Linked DNA regions of Homo sapiens: region 1 is linked to region 2. Evidence: promoter capture Hi-C in 16 types of primary human blood cells and fetal thymus (Javierre and others, 2016). All regions are on one chromosome and are shown on one strand. The core of a region is centred on a gene start or on the middle of the fragment in contact, and the rest is flanking DNA. Distances in the headings are between cores, read along the strand shown. Region 1 holds the start of MTX3 (metaxin 3). Region 2 holds the start of ANKRA2 (ankyrin repeat family A member 2).

What was found. Contacts are between HindIII fragments. The CHiCAGO score rates a contact against its expected background, and 5 or more counts as called.
Region 1: the fragment with the promoter of MTX3 here is called in contact with the fragment with the promoter of ANKRA2 in region 2 in 1 of 17 cell types (total B cells); the score reaches 5.4 in total B cells.

Annotation. Positions count from the first base shown.
Region 1 is chr5:79,989,949-79,993,565 of GRCh38, forward strand. MTX3 (metaxin 3) reads right to left here and starts at 1,314. Exons shown (of 9, transcript NM_001363818.2): 1 at 1,210-1,314; 2 at 646-715; 3 at 212-288. The coding sequence starts at 1,290. It also overlaps a transcript of THBS4 not described here. RefSeq lists an enhancer at 812-981. The HindIII fragment of the contact is 4,262 bases long and covers 399-3,617 here.
Region 2 is chr5:73,563,438-73,567,258 of GRCh38, forward strand. It overlaps ANKRA2 (ankyrin repeat family A member 2), which reads right to left and starts at 2,202. Exons shown (of 9, transcript NM_023039.5): 1 at 1,695-2,202. It overlaps UTP15 (UTP15 small subunit processome component), which reads left to right and starts at 2,306. Exons shown (of 13, transcript NM_032175.4): 1 at 2,306-2,475. RefSeq lists enhancers at 1,462-2,016, 1,596-1,645, 1,666-1,875, 1,886-2,445, 2,017-2,571. The HindIII fragment of the contact is 2,502 bases long and covers 116-2,617 here.

The sequences.
Region 1 (3,617 bases), core at 64-2,563, 6.4 Mb after region 2:
ATTAAAATATAAACTGACTACCTCTTCATATGACTTTCAAATCACAGAACTCATGCTTTAGAGCAGTGATTCTCAAATCTATTTTTACATCTTGTCCCAGGTATCTCCAATTGTCTAATGAGTTGGCAAAAAAAAATAAATAAATAAAATAAAGCCCAACATGCAGGGATCAACAATCTACCAATCTACTTCTTCAAAGTGAACCACCCACCTGTTTTCTTAAAAAGTTTAGTATTTTTGCTGGCTGAGAAACCATGTCGTCTTCAGTTGTCAAAATTGGTACATCGCCTATAATCAAAAAACAGTTTACATACAAGGACACAGTGTGATTTCCTCTGAGAGATTCCAATATCCTAAAAACTATAGCAGTTGCACATTTAGAGGGGAAAAAATGAGTAAGCTTGTCTTGGTTTTTTTGCTGTTTCACAAAGAGCGGTTCTAAAGAACATTTTCGTTTCTCATAATTTCCAGTGATTTCGCTTGCACTTTGAGGTATTACTCAGAATGATCAAACCATAAACAACACAGAGCCAAGGTCACGGTAAGAAACTAAATCCTCAATATTATAGCTATATACCTCACAGCTTTAAATGGAAGAAGAAAAAAAAGAGTGCAGAAAGGGGAGTGTAAAGGTTTACACTATACCTCTTGAACCTCTCCAGGTGTTATCTATCACATTGACTTTCAAGGGTGCACCAGAAAATTTGGCATAAGCCTGAAACAGAGTTTGCAATCAAACATTTTAGACCAAGTGCGTAATGCAAAGCTGCAGAGCAGCTTTACTTCACAGCCCCATCCCCCAAAGGCAGAAGGCGACTGATACTGAGGCCGCATCCCTCCCCGTGATCTCAAGTAGGGACGCGGGCGCCAGCCACCCGGCTTTCGAGGACTTTGCTCCCCAAAAGGTCCTGGGGATGCAGAGTAGGGAGGGCGCGCCCCTTGCTTCGGGGTTTCACTCCACCGCCCAGACAGCTTTGTGAGGCGGACAAAACTCGGAGCCAAGCGGAGAAGCCTTGATGTCGCCGCCGGCCTTCGGCGGGGGTATCGGCCAGGTTGGGACTCGTCGGTGGGAGGGAGCCCAGGGCAATGCAGCGTGCAGCGGCTCGGCCCTCCTGGACCCCGCAGCGCAGCGGGAAACTGGGGCAAGTCAGCCTGGCGCCTCCAGCCCCGCCCCTTCCTCCTGCGCCCTGGCCCGCGAGGCGGCCTCACCATCACCACCAGGGACTCGCTGTGAACCGATGGGAGTCCCCAGCCGCCTCCCCAGCAACTGAGTTCCAAGGGGGCCGCCATCTTGCGCGGGCCGACCTTTACTATCCCGGAAGTACTTTTCCTCCTAATTTCCGGCACGTGAAACGCGGGGGCGTGGCTAAGGGAGGGAAGGGTAATTTGGGGGCTCTTGAGAGATGAGAGAAACAACGACTGGAGGGATTAAGAAGAACTCTTAGGAGCAGCTTGGCCTAAAGGGTAAGAGTTGTGTGCCTTAAGTCAGACCCACCAGTAATTCTTCAAATATTAATATTTATTAGATCCCTAGAGTGTTCCAAACCCTTTGAACATTAAATCTGTGTGATGCCTAAATTAACCTGTTTGTAAAACAGGGATGACCCAGTATTTACAAGATTGTGGTATTTACAATGTCGGAGAGAAAGAACTTGGCACACAGGAGGCACTCAGTAATTGTTCAACCCCTTCTCCCATGTATGTGGCCTCTGCCTGCCTTTCCAGCCTCAACCTGTTCTCACCCTCATGTTCACTGGCACAACCCTGCTTAAAAGTTACAGTATTTCTGAACGTCAGGTAAATTGTGCCCACCTTCAGTGCTGGTCCTTCAATCTGGAATATCTTTCTTCCCTATGCAGCTGCTCCCTCAAAAATGAGCTTAACTCACCTTCCCTGTGATGTTTTTACAAAGTTAGGAGCTCTGGGTTCTTGTAGCCCCTTGTGCATATTTGAATTGTAGCTTCTCTCCCTAGCTACAGACCTTTTGCCTTTCACAGAAGAGGGCTAGCTTCATAGGTTTGGGACCTGTGCAGCCACACAAGGCTCTGTGCTTAAAAAGGCTCCTCATTTGGCTGATGCTCTTCCGTCACTGTCTTGAAATTCTTAAGTTTTGAACAAGGGGCTCTGCATTTTTATTTTGGACTGGGCCCCTCAAATCATGTAGCTCGTCATGTCTGTGGGCCTAATGAGCACAGACTAAATGTTTCTTGACGTTAAACCTGACAGTTTCTCAGAAAAACTATTAAAGAGGAAATTTTGGTCTTGGAAATGCTATGATCCAAACATATGACTGGGTCTCAGAGTTAGAACTTGGGTGCTGGGTCTTTTTTCTAGAAGGCACAGTAGTCTTTCTGGGACACCCTCGCAGTCATGCCTCTGAGTTCTTTCCTCTATTCCACTGAGATGGTCGGATCTTCTTAACTAAAACTCAAAAGAAACCTCTGCAACTTTTCGTAAAATTACTATTCAACAAATATTTGCTAGGCACTCCCTTACTGTTTACATAATCATTCAAATTACAGTGCCAGCCTGCTAAAGTCTTTTTTACATGTTTCAAAACCAAGAGTTCTAAGAAATGAAAAAGAGATATGTCAGAAATGAGAATTCATTAATAATAACTGTATAATTGGAAAATGCATAACATATGTACCATTAAAACTGTCGAAACATTTATTGAGCAGCTCCTATGTCTTAGACATCATAAGGTTCTGGAACAATACAGAAATATATAAAACATGAATTCTGTCCTCGGGAGTTTACAGTGCACAAAGGAGATATACACACACCAAGGTGTAACAAGTCAGATAATCACGAGTAGGGTTAGAAATATAAGCAAAATACTACAGAAACACAAAGGAGGGACAGTGCATCCTCTGTGTGATCAGTGGAGACTATCTGTTGAGTCTTCAGTATAAAGAAAGTAAAGTAATTCAACTTTCAGATTGTAATGGAACCTCCCTGTTTTGAGGGTTAGAAATGTCAAACCATAGACTGACAAAGGCAAGGCAGGGGGAAAGAAAATCCTAAGCCATAAAGCTGAGGGTCCATATACTACATTCAGGCATTTAAAACAATCATACAGAAAGAATGTGGATTTCCTGAGCCTTGTTTGTAGCAGGACTGAGAGGAGTGAATGAACATTCTTAGTGGACACATAACACAGTTACTCAGTTTGGCCTTCTTCCGTACTGCTGCTACTACATACAGTGATTTCATTTGCATTAAAGAGAAATTAAATCTCTTCCCTTAGTGTTGAATTGAGACAGAATAGCATGTCATTGCATCTGATGAAAGAATCCTTACACACAGGTTTATTAGTGCATAGATAATAGCAATCTTTTATTGCTGCAGTTCCTCTTGAGAGTCTGTATCTGTTAGATTGAATTTAAAAAACTCTAACATAGCTGATTGCACAAACAGGCTGAATACTGTTCCAGAGAACCACACAGAAAATTGAAGCCTTCAGAAATTATGCCTGGTATGGTTAGTTGGCTCCTGTGCCTTTTCCTGGCTGTTTTAGAGTATTGTTCAGAGTTCATCTAAATCATAACTTCAGATTCCTACCGGGAAGAATACTGTCTGCAAAACATCCATGTTTGTGTGGGATGGCCTGAATC
Region 2 (3,821 bases), core at 952-3,451:
TTATATAGGTGGCCCTTAGTTTGAATTTAAGAAATGATAATTCATGTTGTATCCAAGTTTATTGGCATTGTCATCTATAACACCTGTGATTCCTAGACCATGAAAGGCTTTACAAAGCTTTGGTTTTGATGAACTGAAGGTACATTTATGAATTTTTGTTCCGATTAAGCATTAGCAACTTAATGTAGGTTTTCATGAAAAATAAAGTAGGTAGATTATGGATTGGCTTTCCAAGATGTATAGTTGTCTTAGATACATTATCATTTGGGACAGAAAGGAAATTAATAACATCCAGTTAATTTTTTCATGTTAGGGTTAATTGCCTCTTAGGAATTTTGAGAGGGTGCAGGGTGTTTCAAAATTGGAATTGGAATTAAAAGAAAAATGCATTAGGATCGCAGTGGAGCAAGGGTCGCGAAACCATACATTTACAGATAACCACCTTCTACAATTTTAAAAACATTTTCAAAGATTAGTCTTTATAACAATCCTTTGAGTAGGCAGGTCAGGTAATCATATGTCCACCTAGGAGGGGTAAAAAAGGAAGCTCATGAATTATGAGGGCTTACTCAGCTCTTCTGACTCCATCACTCTGACCATTAAAATGAGGCAGCCCTAAACAAAGCCAAAATCTCCACGAGAGAGTTGAATAAATAACACATAGTATAGTAAGGAAAAAAAAAAAAAGCAGGAAGTAAGAAGGTTAATACATTTGGGCAAAAAGAAGGAAACCAGAAAAGAAAATTAGTTCAGTGATTCAAAGGGAGATGGATGTGCAATGCATTAGTCCATGCGTCTTAAAAGGGACTGGACAATGTGAACTGTGTTTCCTGAGGGAAGAACCATCTCCCCCTTTCTCCTATCCAGCGGTTGGCTAAGTGCAACTCCCCTAAGCTCTCTGAGCACCCTGCATGTATCTGTATTTTAGCATTCACCATCCTTTTGACAATTTCCATTTAAATAACAGCTAAATTGAAAACTCCCCTAGGATGGGGACCACTCTTACTAATTTTTGCACACAGAACAGTACTTGGTCCTACCAGGTGCTCCATAAATGTTTTCTGATCTTAACTTTAACAATTTTTTCCATATTCTTTTCTATTTCTAACATTTGCTGATTAGACCTGGCTTTCCACTCCCAACATCGCTACTAACTAGCTGGCCACTCCTGGACAAATAAATAATACAAGTTTTCTGAAATTCATCTATTATAAAAAGGTGTTGAAATAGGCCTTTCTAATATTCTTTCCAGCTCTAAACAGCTTCCATGTTACAAATCAGGGTTTATAGATGGAATTACAGGTCTTCGAGAGGAGAATAGCAAATGTGCTTAGGCGAAGGGGGTGGGTGGAAAATGAACGCTTATCTTGGCACAGCAGTTTAACGAGAGGAGAAGCAAAGTTGATTGGTAGGCCAAAATTTTGAAGAACAGGAGAGGGAGGCGGGGGTGAGGGGAGTGGGGTAACAGGACTTAGAAGAGGTGGTGGTGAGAAAAAGGGGGTAAGGCAATCGATAGCTAGGTTCACCTCGATCTGTCAGAGCCCAGGGATGAAGGGATAGAGAGTCTACGGAGATAAAGTGGGCAGCTATGCTAGTTCCTGTGGATGCTAATAACAGGAGCCCCTCGTTTCTTCCTGATCCTGGAATTATTCTACAAGGAGAGGAAGGTGCTATGAAAATAAATGATGCCTCACAGGCGACAGGTGTCCCAGCGTCCCGAGACAGGAGCCCGCTGTCTCCCGCTGGAGGGGAGACTCTTGCAGGAAAGAAAGTCCGTTCTGTCGCCACCGGCCAGCTGTGCCCGAAAAGTCCCAGGAAGAAACTCTCGCTCATCCGCGGCGAGCGGATCCCGGGCACAGGGGCTGGAGGCCGACCCGGTGAGAGTGCAAGGTCTCGCGACCACCGACGACAGCAGACAGCGAGTCGGGCCTTCCCATCTGAGGCCAGCTTCAGTACAGGCCTCCAAGCCCGGGCTTGTTTTGGCCGCGACGTCACTTCCGATTTCTTCTTTCGCCTTCTGGCTAAAAAACGTTCCGCAGCAATGCAGCTGAAACTTTCGGGTTTTCTTTTTTTTGTCCCTCTCTCCTTTTTTTTAATATTTTTGTTTTTGCCGCCTTTACGCTCCGAGGCCCATCCTGCCGGAGTACTACACAGACAGGGTCATTTCAGTTGACGGTTCTGGGTCACCAGAGCAGAGGAAGCCCCAATTTCGCCCTCCGGTCACACCTCCTACTCCAGATCGCCCCGCCCACCTGACCCGCCTCTGCGCCGCCGGGCTGCGTGAGTCTCATGAGCGTGCTCTGGTACGTCATCTTCGCGCGACGTTCGGTTCGCTGTGTGTGTCGCCGGCTCCTTGAGGGTCCATGTGATTTTTACGCCAGTGCTGCTGAACTGTGCAGGGTAGGGAGCTGGCACAGTCCGATTAATTGTCCTTGGGTCGAGGTGTCTCGTCGGACCCTTTGGGGCTCAGTGGAGGTAGGTGAAGGCGGCTCCCATTGAGGGAAGCCCACACTCACACCCGGCCTTCCTGTGTTAATCTGGCATGCTCTTCTGGGGCTTCCCAGGCTATATAGGAGAGTGGCCAAATTCTTTAACCGGCTCAAGTTCCCCTCAATTAAGCTTCGACCTAGGTTCTTCTCTGCGATTACACCCTTTCCTGTCCACCGTTGTTAGTTCCCGGAGTAATCAGCAACTCTCCAAGGCAATGGACACATTTCCATCTTTGCCTTTGCTTACGAGGCTCCCTCAGGTGAAGTGAACCTAATGGAGTTTTAAAATATTTGGGAGATAAAATCAGCAGATCTTGTTAACTATTTGGATGTTAGGAGTGAGGAAGAAAAGGACACGTCAAGGCTGAGTCTAGGTTAATATCTGGTGCCAGTCACCAGCCAAAATGGAGTATATTGGAGTAAGCAAAGGCACAGACCATGTCTTTATTTCATTCACCATTATAGCCCCAGTGCCTAGAGCAGTGTCCTGCACATTGGTAGGTACTTTAATGAACAGAAGAGTGTTCCCAAAGACCAGTGAAATACAATCATTGGTCATTGTATTTCATTAAAGCACCTTTTAAATATATGTTACACCTATTTATCGTGGTGTTACTAATGTAAAGTTTTCAGGCTTTTTGGAATAGATGATGAGCAGCACCTCTGGAATCATTTACCTGATAACATTGAATCTCTTTTGCAATTGAGTCGTTCTGGAAAAATGTTTTGGCTTGATTGCATGTTATTTAAAAGTTTTATCCTATTCTGCCACTTTAGTGTTGAATTTAATTTCAGGACTGCTTTATTACAGTTTTCTTTCCTACTGTTTAAACCTTTTAAAGTAAATTTAATTTTAAGCTTCTACATTAGAATATTAGCTTTGTGTTTCTTACTTCTTGGCATTTTTAGGCTTTCAGGAAATCAAATCCGTAACTATAATTGTTATAGATTAAATGTCATCTTAAACTTGGTTTCAGGAAACTTGTATTTGCAGTTTCACCTTAATATTTCCTGTTGCCAAAAAATGGACACTCAAAGCCAGCATGATCCTTTTTGGTTTGGCTACTGTAAGGCTGTGCTAGATTTATTCCTAAGTGTTGTAAAATGGTTGGCTAGGTGTGAGAACCTTTGTGTACAGCTGAATAGATGGTGCGATATGATAGCCTTCACTTTAATTATTCCTGCTTCCTATAGATTGCCTTTTCTGGGTTAGAATTAAATGGCTTATTGGTCTCTAATCTATATACTTCCACACAGACTTTTTAAAGAAAGCAGAGTGAAAATCAACTATGTGTACAAGCTTATAATATGTATATAAAATATTTTATTTTT